3 separate regions of the Homo sapiens genome follow, and all the other regions are linked to region 3. Evidence: promoter capture Hi-C in 16 types of primary human blood cells and fetal thymus (Javierre and others, 2016). All regions are on one chromosome and are shown on one strand. The core of a region is centred on a gene start or on the middle of the fragment in contact, and the rest is flanking DNA. Distances in the headings are between cores, read along the strand shown.

Region 1 (3,160 bases), core at 118-2,617, 1.1 Mb before region 3:
AGAAAAAATAAAAACTTACTATACATGTTACATAACAAAGTGTTTCACTCTTTTATGTGTAAAGTCTATTCATACCCTTACCCTCTTTTGGAAACTTATGACTAAAAATCAGGGTACAAAACATAATATTTACAATTCTCCAAGTACCCGAAATACCTCTAAAACAAAAAGCAACCTGTGGAAAAACATTTCAATACCTGACAGAATAAATATGGAAAAGCACAGAAATAAATGTTACTACTACCTTACTCCCAAGGGAGCCTTCCGCAATGAAGTTTACAACAAAGTGTCTTGAAATGTTGTTAATCTGTTGGTATACTTGATAAATTATAAAGAAAACATTTCTATTGGATTCTCATTTTAGGTTGAAAAAAAACCTGGTATTCTAAGTATTAACACAAAATTAAACTTTTGCTTTTAAACTAAACTTATAATAAGTATGCTTTTATCAAAAATATATGAACATGGATTTTAAAAAGCCAAACCCTACAGAGAGGTGTTAAATGAAGAGTTAAAGCAAGTTTTTCTAGTTTGTCTTTCCCATCTGTGATATCATAAAAAAAATATTAATATTTGGTCTTTGTCCCATTTTCTGACATAGCTTCTAAAATCCTTGGAATCTCTGGAGTGATGACTGTTTTGTACAATAATCAGATGACTGGTGCCTGGGGGCCCCTAGATAGCTTCAGGATGGGGGCTAGGTAGCCAGGGGAATCAGCCCAGTGATTAAGGGTTATAACTTTGATTCCTACCCCCAGCCGCCACTTCTGGGAAGAAAGAAGCTGAAACTTGAGTCCATAAACCAATGACTAGTGATCTAATCAATCTTGCCTATTTAATGAACTTCCATAGAAGCCCAAAAGGACTGAGTTCTGTGAGCTCTCAGATAGCTGAACACTGAAGCTCCACGCCCCTTCTCCTCTTCTCTCCTTCTTTGTCTCACCTTGTACATCTCCTTCCATCGGGTTAATTCATCTGTGTCCTTTGTAATTGCCTTTATAATAAATGGGTAAATGTAAGTACAGTAGTTCCCCCTTACCCAAGATTTGACTTCCTTTTTTTTTTTTTTTTTTTTTTAGTGATGGAGTCTCGCTCTGTTGCCCAGGCTGGAGTGCAGTGGTGCGATCTTTTGATTAACATAGGTTTTTAACCTCAATATCATTCGGTTTATCAATCTTCATTATGTATTTGCTTTTATATATTTTTAAGGATTTCTTCCTTAATCTAAGATTGGAAAAATAAAATATTCCATATTTTTTTCTAAAAATTTAAAGTTCTGCATTTCATATTTACATATACATCTAGGTAAGAATACACTTAGAAATGACTATTTTTTTTTTTTAAGAGACAGGGTCTTGCTCTGTCACCCAGCCAGGCTGGAGTGCAGTTATGCAATCATAGCTCACTTGCAGCCTTGAACTCCTAGGCCCAAGCGATCTTCTCACCCCAGCCTCCTGAGTAAGATAGGACTACAGGCACCCACCACCAAGTATGGCTATTATTTTAAATATTTATTTTTGCAGAGACAGGGTCTCACTACACTGCTCAACCTAGAAGTGACTGTCTATATATTGACATAAGGTAGACATCTAGTATAATTTATTTCCAAAGGTGTAACAAAATGATCATTAATTCAACAGTCCATATTTACCTCAATGTACTTCAATTCTATCTCTGAAACACATTATTTCTATATATACATTGGTGTCTGTTTCTGGGCTATGTAATTATAAATAAGGCTAAGTACTAATCTATTTGTCTATCCCAATGGTTCTCAACCATGATTTGGCAATATCCAGGGACAGTTTTGGCTGTCACACTGGGGTGTGGGGGTGCAAGGTGCTACTGGCATCTAATGGGCAGGGGATAGTGATGCTGCTAAAAATCTTACAGTGCACAGGAGAGCTCCCATCCGCAAACAAAGAATTATCCTGTCCAAAATGTCAATACTGCCACTGTTGAGAAATCTCTGTCTATTCCTCTGCCAGTGATAATTACTTCGGCTTTGTTTTTTCACTTCAGAGGTTTTCTGAAGTCTTTTTCGGCACCAAAAATAGCTATCTCATTTCTTTCAAGAACTTTATTGCATGGCTAGACCTAATACAATGAACAGATTTGTATCAATACATATTTAGATTAAGTTTGTTGCTTTGTTATTTCCAGTAATGCTTGCCCATAGTCCTTAAGCAAACTATCTCTCTAGGCCAATTCCCTAGAATTGAAATTGTGAGTCAAAAGTTGTACGAGCCAGGCATCCCAGCTACTTGGGAGGCTGAGGCAGGAGAATCGCTTGAACCTGGGAGGTGGAGGTTGCAGTGTGCTGAGATCACGCCACTGCACTCCAGCCTTGGTGACAGAGTGAGACTGTCTCAAAAACAAAACAAAACACTGAGAAGTCAGTTGTAAATGACAGTTGATACTGCCAAATGGTTTTACACTGAAATTAAGAGTCTTCCGGGCCAGGCACGGTGGCTCACGCCTGTAATCCCAGCACTCTGGGAGGACGATGTGGGCAGATCACCTGAGGTCGGGAGTTGGAGAACAGCCTGACCAACATGGAGAAAACCTGTCTCTACTAAAAATAGAAAAAAATTTGCCGGGGGTGGTGGCGCTTGCCTGTAATCATCCTAGCTACTCGGGAGGCTGAGGCCGGAGAATCGCCCGAACCTGGGAGGTGGAAGTTGTGGTGAGCCGAGATCACGCCATTGCACTCCGGCCTGGGCAACAAGAGCAAACTCCGTCTCAAAAAAAAAAAAAAGTCTTCCAAAATTGTATAAATTTACCTATTTCAAAAAGGTAAATACCTTTGCAAAACTAATAAAACTTTGAACTCTTCACCAATCTGATAAATTTTTTTTGACTTTTTTTTTTTTTTTGAGACAGTCTCGCTCTATCGCCCAGGCTGGAGTGCAGTGGCGCGATCTTGGCTCACTGCAACCTCCACCTCCCCGATTCGAGAGATTCTCGTGCCTCAGCCTCCACAGTAGCTGGGACTATGGGCAGGAGTCACTGCACCCGGCTAATTTTTTGGTAGACACGGGTTGTGCCATTTGGCCAAGCTGGTGTCAAACTCCTGGCCTCAAGCAATCTGCCTGCCTCAGCCTCCCAAAGTGCTGGGATTATAGGCGTGAGCCACCGTAAGCGGTCTTGACAGTATTTA
Region 2 (3,073 bases), core at 227-2,726, 1.0 Mb before region 3:
CCAAGTTCTTTGCTTTTTTTTTTTTAACAGCTTTATTGAGATATAATTCACATACTATAAAATTCACCCTTTTAGTATATATGTTGCTGAAGCAAGTAGGGAAATTCACCCTTTAAAAATATACAATTAAATGGCTGGTTCATATATTATAGAGTTGTGCAATCATCACCACCATCTATTTTCAGAACATTTTCATCTTCCCACAAAATCAACCCAGTACCTATTAGCAGTCATTCTCCATTCTCCACTCCCCCCAGCACCTGGGAACTTACTTTCTGTTTCTATAGATTTGCCTATTCTGGCCATTTCATATAAATGGGACCATACAATAAATGACCTTTTGCAACTGGATTCTTTCACTCAGCATAATGTTTTCAAGGTTCATCCAGAAACCATGTATCAGTACTGCATTCCTTTTTACAGATTCCATTGTATATATATGACATTTTGTTTAACCACTCATCAGTTGATGGACTTTGGGTTGTTTCCACATTTTGTCTATGAATAATGCTGCTACAAATATTCACGCACAAGCCTTTGTGTGGACATATGTTTGCATTCTCTTGGGTATATATACCTCTATCACATATGTCTTATTTATTTGGTTAATTCACTGCTGGGTAATATGCTAACCCTATGTTCAACACTTTAAGGAACTGCCACAACTGTTTCCCAAGTGAACAGGGTTGGATCTTTATTTTAAACATTTTAAATGCTTGTAATCATTTTAAATAATAGTTGAGTTTGAAAATGACTACTTTTACAGCTTGTGCAATATAAAGTGGCTGTACCCTGAGGCTGTTCAGAGTGATATATATTGGATTTTGTCACATGTATGCCCAGGGTAGGAGAAAATGAAATTTAAATTCTATTTGTTTCTTACTATTTTTAATTTCTGTTCGTGTATGGTTTTTCTGTTTTTGAGACAGAGTCTTGCTCTGTTGCCCAGGCTGGAGTGCAGTGGCACAATCTCGGCTTACTGCAACCTCCACTTCCTGAGTTCAAGAGATTCTCCTGCCTCAGCCTCCCAAGTAGCTGGAATTATAGAAGCCCACCACCACACCTGGCTTATTTTTGTATTTCTAGTAGAGACAGGGTTTTGCCATGTTGGACAGGCTAGTCTCAAACTCCTGACCTCAGGTGATCCACCTGCCACAGCCTCCCAAAGTGCTGGGATCACAGGCATAAGCCACCGCACCTGGCCTATTTGTGTATTTCAAAGGCACATATTGTACTCATATATTACTGCACTCATATAATTTTTTAAATTACAAAGTTAATAAAGCAGCTCAAGTTTGAGGGAGTTTTTAAAAATTACTATTTTTTAAAAATCACAATATCTCTATCAGGTGGCTGCATTGACTGGCAACTAATACTGAAGCTTGCATGGGAAGCCTTTAGAGCTTATACAAATTGCTGGACTGAGATGACAAGGACCCCATGAGCCTCCCGAACCCTTCAGTCTTTTTTCATTGGTTCCATAAGATGCCTCTTCCCAACCAGGGCAATCCAGCAAGTCCTCAAAGAAAACTAAAATGTAAATGAACATGCTTAAGTAGAGAAAAAGCTTAAGGGAGGCTTCTGTTCTTCCATCCACACATTAACTCCTGCTCATTCTTTAACACTCCCTTAGGCATCCCTGCTCCTACCTTCCTAGTCACCCTGTTCAATCCTCAACCCACATCCTCAAATGAGGGTGGCTGCCTCTCCTATGTGTGCCCATAAAAACCCTTATTTCTATCTAAGCACTCAGTAAACAGCACTGACATTGTTTTCTCTGTATCTGTGTCACCAGATAGTGATCCCATTGTGGGCAGGACTCAGTTTTATTCATCTCTATGTCACTGGCTCCAAGCACAGCGCTTAATGGAGAGAGTACACAGTATCTCCTAATTAATCAGTGAATGGCTTTTCAAAATAATGACATTCTGCCTCAAGTAGGCCAGACATACAGCAACCCCTCACAGCCAAATTGGAAAGTGGTGGTTCATCATATACAAAGACTGACTGATAGAATGAAGTGTGAAAGGAAAATAAAATGTCAGACCCCAGGCCGGGCGCAGTGGCTCACACCTGTAATCCTAGCACTTTGGGAGGCTGAGGTGGGTGGATCACCTGAGGTCGGGAGTTCGAGACCAGCCTGACTATGGAGAAACCCTGTCTCTACTAAAAATACAAAAATTAGCCGGGCGTGGTGGCACATGCCTACAATCCCAGCTAATCGGGAGGCTGAGGCAGGAGAATCGCTTGAACCTGGGAGGCGGAGGTTGTGGTGAGCTGAGATCGTGCCATTGCACTCCAGCCTGGGCAACAAGAGCGAAACTCCATCTCAAACAAACAAACAAACAAACAAACAAGTCAGACCCCAAACTTACTATGCCAAAGGGAAAAGTGAAGCCTGGAAACTCAGTCATGCAAAAAAACTGCCTTTCCTTTTGCCTAAACACAGCCGCAAGATAGAAGATTCCATATCTCCTCAGTTGGCCTCCCTTACCTTGACAATGTAAACAGCTTATCTTCACAGATACAGCACAAAGTCAAGACTAGAAACCATCCCTCTGCCCACCTCAGACATATGCATATTTACTGAGTCCTGACAAATGCTTAATTGACTGTTCCTCTACCCCACTTCACATGTAACATGTGGATTCAGTGAGCACTAATCAAAGCCTCACAAGAATGTGACCACTTAACTCACTACCTACACTCCTTTTTGTTTTTTTCCTCTACCCCTACTCCTCCTACCCTCACTTTCCCCTTTAAATACTGAAGCCCTCAAAATCCTCTTTGGAAAAATGTGTGGGCCACAGATCCTACTGTGACTTGTGTCTTTTTCCCATGTGTGTCCTCAACCTTGGCAAAATAAGCCTCTAAACTGATTGAGACCTGTCTCAGATACTTTTTATTTTACAAAAGTATTCACCACTCAGTGAGTCACGATGATGACAGCTTAACATATATTCATTTAAACCTAAGAACTACCCTACAGGATATGTACAATTGTTAACCCTAATGTACAGATAAGGAAACTAAATCTTGAGAGATTCATAACTTGCCTGAGGTCACCCAGAAA
Region 3 (3,168 bases), core at 322-2,821:
CGAGTAGCTGGGATTACAGGTGCACGCCACCACACCTGGCTAATTTTTGTATTTTTAGTAGAGGCAGGGTTTCTGCATGTCGGCCAGGCTGGTCTCAGACTCCTGGCCTCAAGAGATCCGCCCACCTCGGCCTCCCAAAGTGCTGGAATTACAGGCGTGAGCCATCGCACCGGGCCTTATCTGCTTTTCTCTCAAAATGAAAGAACCAAGGGATCCATGAGGGAATTTGTCGATTTTGTTCACTGCTATATCCCCAGTGCCCAGAAGTATGCCACATACTCCAAGTGCCTAATAAACATTTATTGAATGAATGAATAAAACAATGACTGGACATTAGGGAGGAGAACTAACGGGATTTAGAAGAGAGGCAGGACAGAAAAATAGTGCAGTAGTTAAGATGCATGAACTTCAGAATCACGAAGAGGTTCCAGTTTCAGCACCACCACTTGCTAGATGTGTGATTTGGGGGCACAGAACAGCCTCTCTGTGGCTCAGTCTTTTTATTAGTAAAATGAGGATAACGATAATAAAAGAAGGTACCTCCTGGACATCGATGGAAGCACCTGCCACTGAGCCTGACATGCAATCAGGGCCGAACAAATGTTAAGCTCTTGGTGGCATTGGTTTAGTGACCAGCAGAAGGGGGAGGAGTAGGTTTAGATAGCACTGAGGTTTCCTGTACAAGGACTAGAAGCTGGGGAAGAAGCCATTACTCAGGAAAGAGTAGGTATGAGGACTAAGGCAAGGGCGGTACTTCAGCTGCAGAGGTGGCCTAGGACAGGGGTGCACTGCGTGGATTCCGGGGCCAGACCCTGACTGTAAATCCCCACTCCTTCATTCACAAGCTACGTGGCCCTGCGCAAATTACTTGCAGCCCTCTGTGCTTCAGTGCTCTCATCTTTCAACTGGGGATAACAATACCTACCTCTTACGGTTATTGTGATGCTCAGTGATTTAGTTTACCTAAACCACCCAGAACAACGCGTGGCATATAGCAAGTGCTGTATGAAAAACTCTCCGTGCCTTCATTCTCTTACAAAATTAAAATGACCTTCACCTCAGTCTGAAACCCCACAGGCTTCAGCAGAGTAACCCCCAAAGATTTTCAGAGCTCCACCCTTCCTGGCCCCGAAGCAGAGATCTGCTGAGCAAATCCAACCGACAAGCGCCAGGCACAGGTAATGCACTATCGACCCTATGATTCCGGACGAATTCCCAACCCCATCCAATAGCCCACGCTCTACTCAAGAGACGAGAGCTGCCATTCCCGCTCCCTCCTCCCGCAAAACTGTAGAACCCGCCGGTAGAGGCCGGGAGCGCCCCCGAGGAGGGGCCGGGAAGAGGCGGGGCCCGGTTGCGACTCGCCGCCCGGGAGCCTGGGAGACCCAGAGGCTGCGCCCGCGCCCCCTCACCAGTAGCAGCTGCTGTAGACGCAGGCGTCCCGCGGGGGGCTGGCCGGCTGGTAGTGGACAGCAGCGGGGCCATTACCTTCCATGGCCGGCTAGCTGGGCCAGGGCCCGGGCCGGAGGAAGACCGACTGGACCAGACGTAGGAAAGGGCGGGCTTGTAGTGGCCCGCGTGGGTTCCCGGCGTGGGGTGGGCGGAGCCCGGGGGGAGAGGGCCGGGGCAGTTTCCGGGTGGTGGGGCCAGTAGCGCGGTGGGCGGGGCCAGGGCGGGACTAGCAGCACGAGTTCCCGGCGCGGGAAGCCCGGGACGAAGTAGGCGGAGCTCGGGGCAAGCGGCGCCAGTTCCTGGGAGGGTGGAGCCCAAGCGAAGTGGGCGGGTCCGGGGTGGGGTGAGTGGCGCGAACTCCCGGTGGGCGGAGCCCGGGACGAGGAGGACAGCGCGCTTCCGGGTAGGCGGAGCCCGGCTGGTGGGTGGGGCCCGGGATGGGGCGGGACTGGAGGACCGGGCTCTGGTGGGCGGAGTCAGGGGCGGGGCCCCGGTGAGCTTTGGGAGAAGAGGGGTCTCTGGCGGCGGCTTGGGGAGGAGCTAGGTTTGGGCTTGGAGTTGGGCCCTGAATGGCGCTTTGCTGTGAATCTCCGCGGGGAGGCTCTTCCAACCAGGGGCTGAGCTTCTGCGCTGTGGAGAAGCCAGGTGAGACACTGAAATAACAGAGGTTTGGGTGTGAAAATCCACGCTTCTGCACTCAGCCTGGAGTCTGCGGGAGCCCAGAGAAGAGGGGAGTGGAGGTTAATTCCAATATGACCGCATCGAGGACGCTTTCCGAAAGGGATAGCACCCCAAATCTCACTCTATTGTAACTTAATCTTTTAAATTGGAAGGCCTGTAGCTATTGGCTCGAAAAGATATATTAATTCCCTGATACAGTAAATTTGAAAAAAAAAAGTTTAAAGAGTCCATATGGTATCCTTTTTGTGTTAATCATATATTTTGTTCAATTACTGGCAGTCTGGAAGAAAAGACACCATATTGTTAAAATAGTGTTTAGGGCCGGGTGCGGTGGCTCACGCCTGTAATCCCAGCACTTTGGGAGACCGAGGCGGGTGGATCACGAGGTCAGGGGTTCGAGACGAGCCTGGCCAACATGGTGAAACTCCGTCTCTACTAAAAATACAAAAATTAGTTGGGCGTGGAGGCGCGCGCCTGTAATCCCAGATACTCGGGAGGCTGAGGCAAGAGAATCGCCTGAACCCGGGAGGCGGAGGTTGCAGTGAGCCGAGATGGTGCCATTGCACTCCAGCCTGGGCAACAGGGTGAGACTCCGTCTCAAAAAAAAAAAATAGTGTTTATCTCTGGTGAATGAATGATATTAATATCAGGGACTTTCAGTTTCAAGGTCTTTACACTTTACAGTCTTCTGAATTGTTTATATTTGCAATGAGCATAGCTAGCTAATCAGGGTACTTCCCATTATAAAAACTGAGATGTTTACATTGATTTTAGCCATCCACAGTTGGATTCTCCAATCTCTTCAGTCTCAAAGCTGATAAATCCTAAAGACTTGGAGCACAGTTCCTGTGTCAATTACCAATTTTATTGCCTCTCAGCTCCTAATACAAACTTCCACATAGCCTCTATGCTATATAACAACTCTGGTAAACATTTCTCCTTTAAAGTGAGTGGGAAACCCTATAAGCTAGAAGGGATTGGGGCCCTATCTTTAGCCTCCTCAAACAAAACAATTATCAGCCAATAATTTTGTAT

The links. The method cuts DNA at HindIII sites, captures the fragments that hold promoters and counts their contacts. A CHiCAGO score of 5 or more calls a contact.
Region 1: a contact is called between a fragment that was not itself captured here and the fragment with the promoter of NTAQ1 in region 3, in 1 of 17 cell types (neutrophils). The highest score is 9.6, in neutrophils.
Region 2: a fragment that was not itself captured here is called in contact with the fragment with the promoter of NTAQ1 in region 3 in 2 of 17 cell types (M1 macrophages and naive CD8 T cells); the score reaches 6.0 in M1 macrophages.

The regions. Positions count from the first base shown.
Region 1 is chr8:124,478,322-124,481,481 of GRCh38, reverse strand. The region is part of intron 1 of RNF139 (ring finger protein 139); the gene reads right to left. Among named protein-coding and RNA genes, the nearest start is that of RNF139, 5.0 kb to the right of the region's middle. The HindIII fragment of the contact is 4,337 bases long and covers 1-3,160 here.
Region 2 is chr8:124,455,541-124,458,613 of GRCh38, reverse strand. No RefSeq gene overlaps it. Among named protein-coding and RNA genes, the nearest start is that of TYW2, 6.3 kb to the right of the region's middle. The HindIII fragment of the contact is 186 bases long and covers 1,384-1,569 here.
Region 3 is chr8:123,415,177-123,418,344 of GRCh38, reverse strand. NTAQ1 (N-terminal glutamine amidase 1) reads right to left here and starts at 1,571. Exons shown (of 6, transcript NM_018024.3): 1 at 1,413-1,571. The coding sequence starts at 1,495. It also overlaps a transcript of ATAD2 not described here. RefSeq lists silencers at 833-882, 1,203-1,402, 1,513-1,992 and an enhancer at 805-1,399. The HindIII fragment of the contact is 17,257 bases long and covers 1-3,168 here.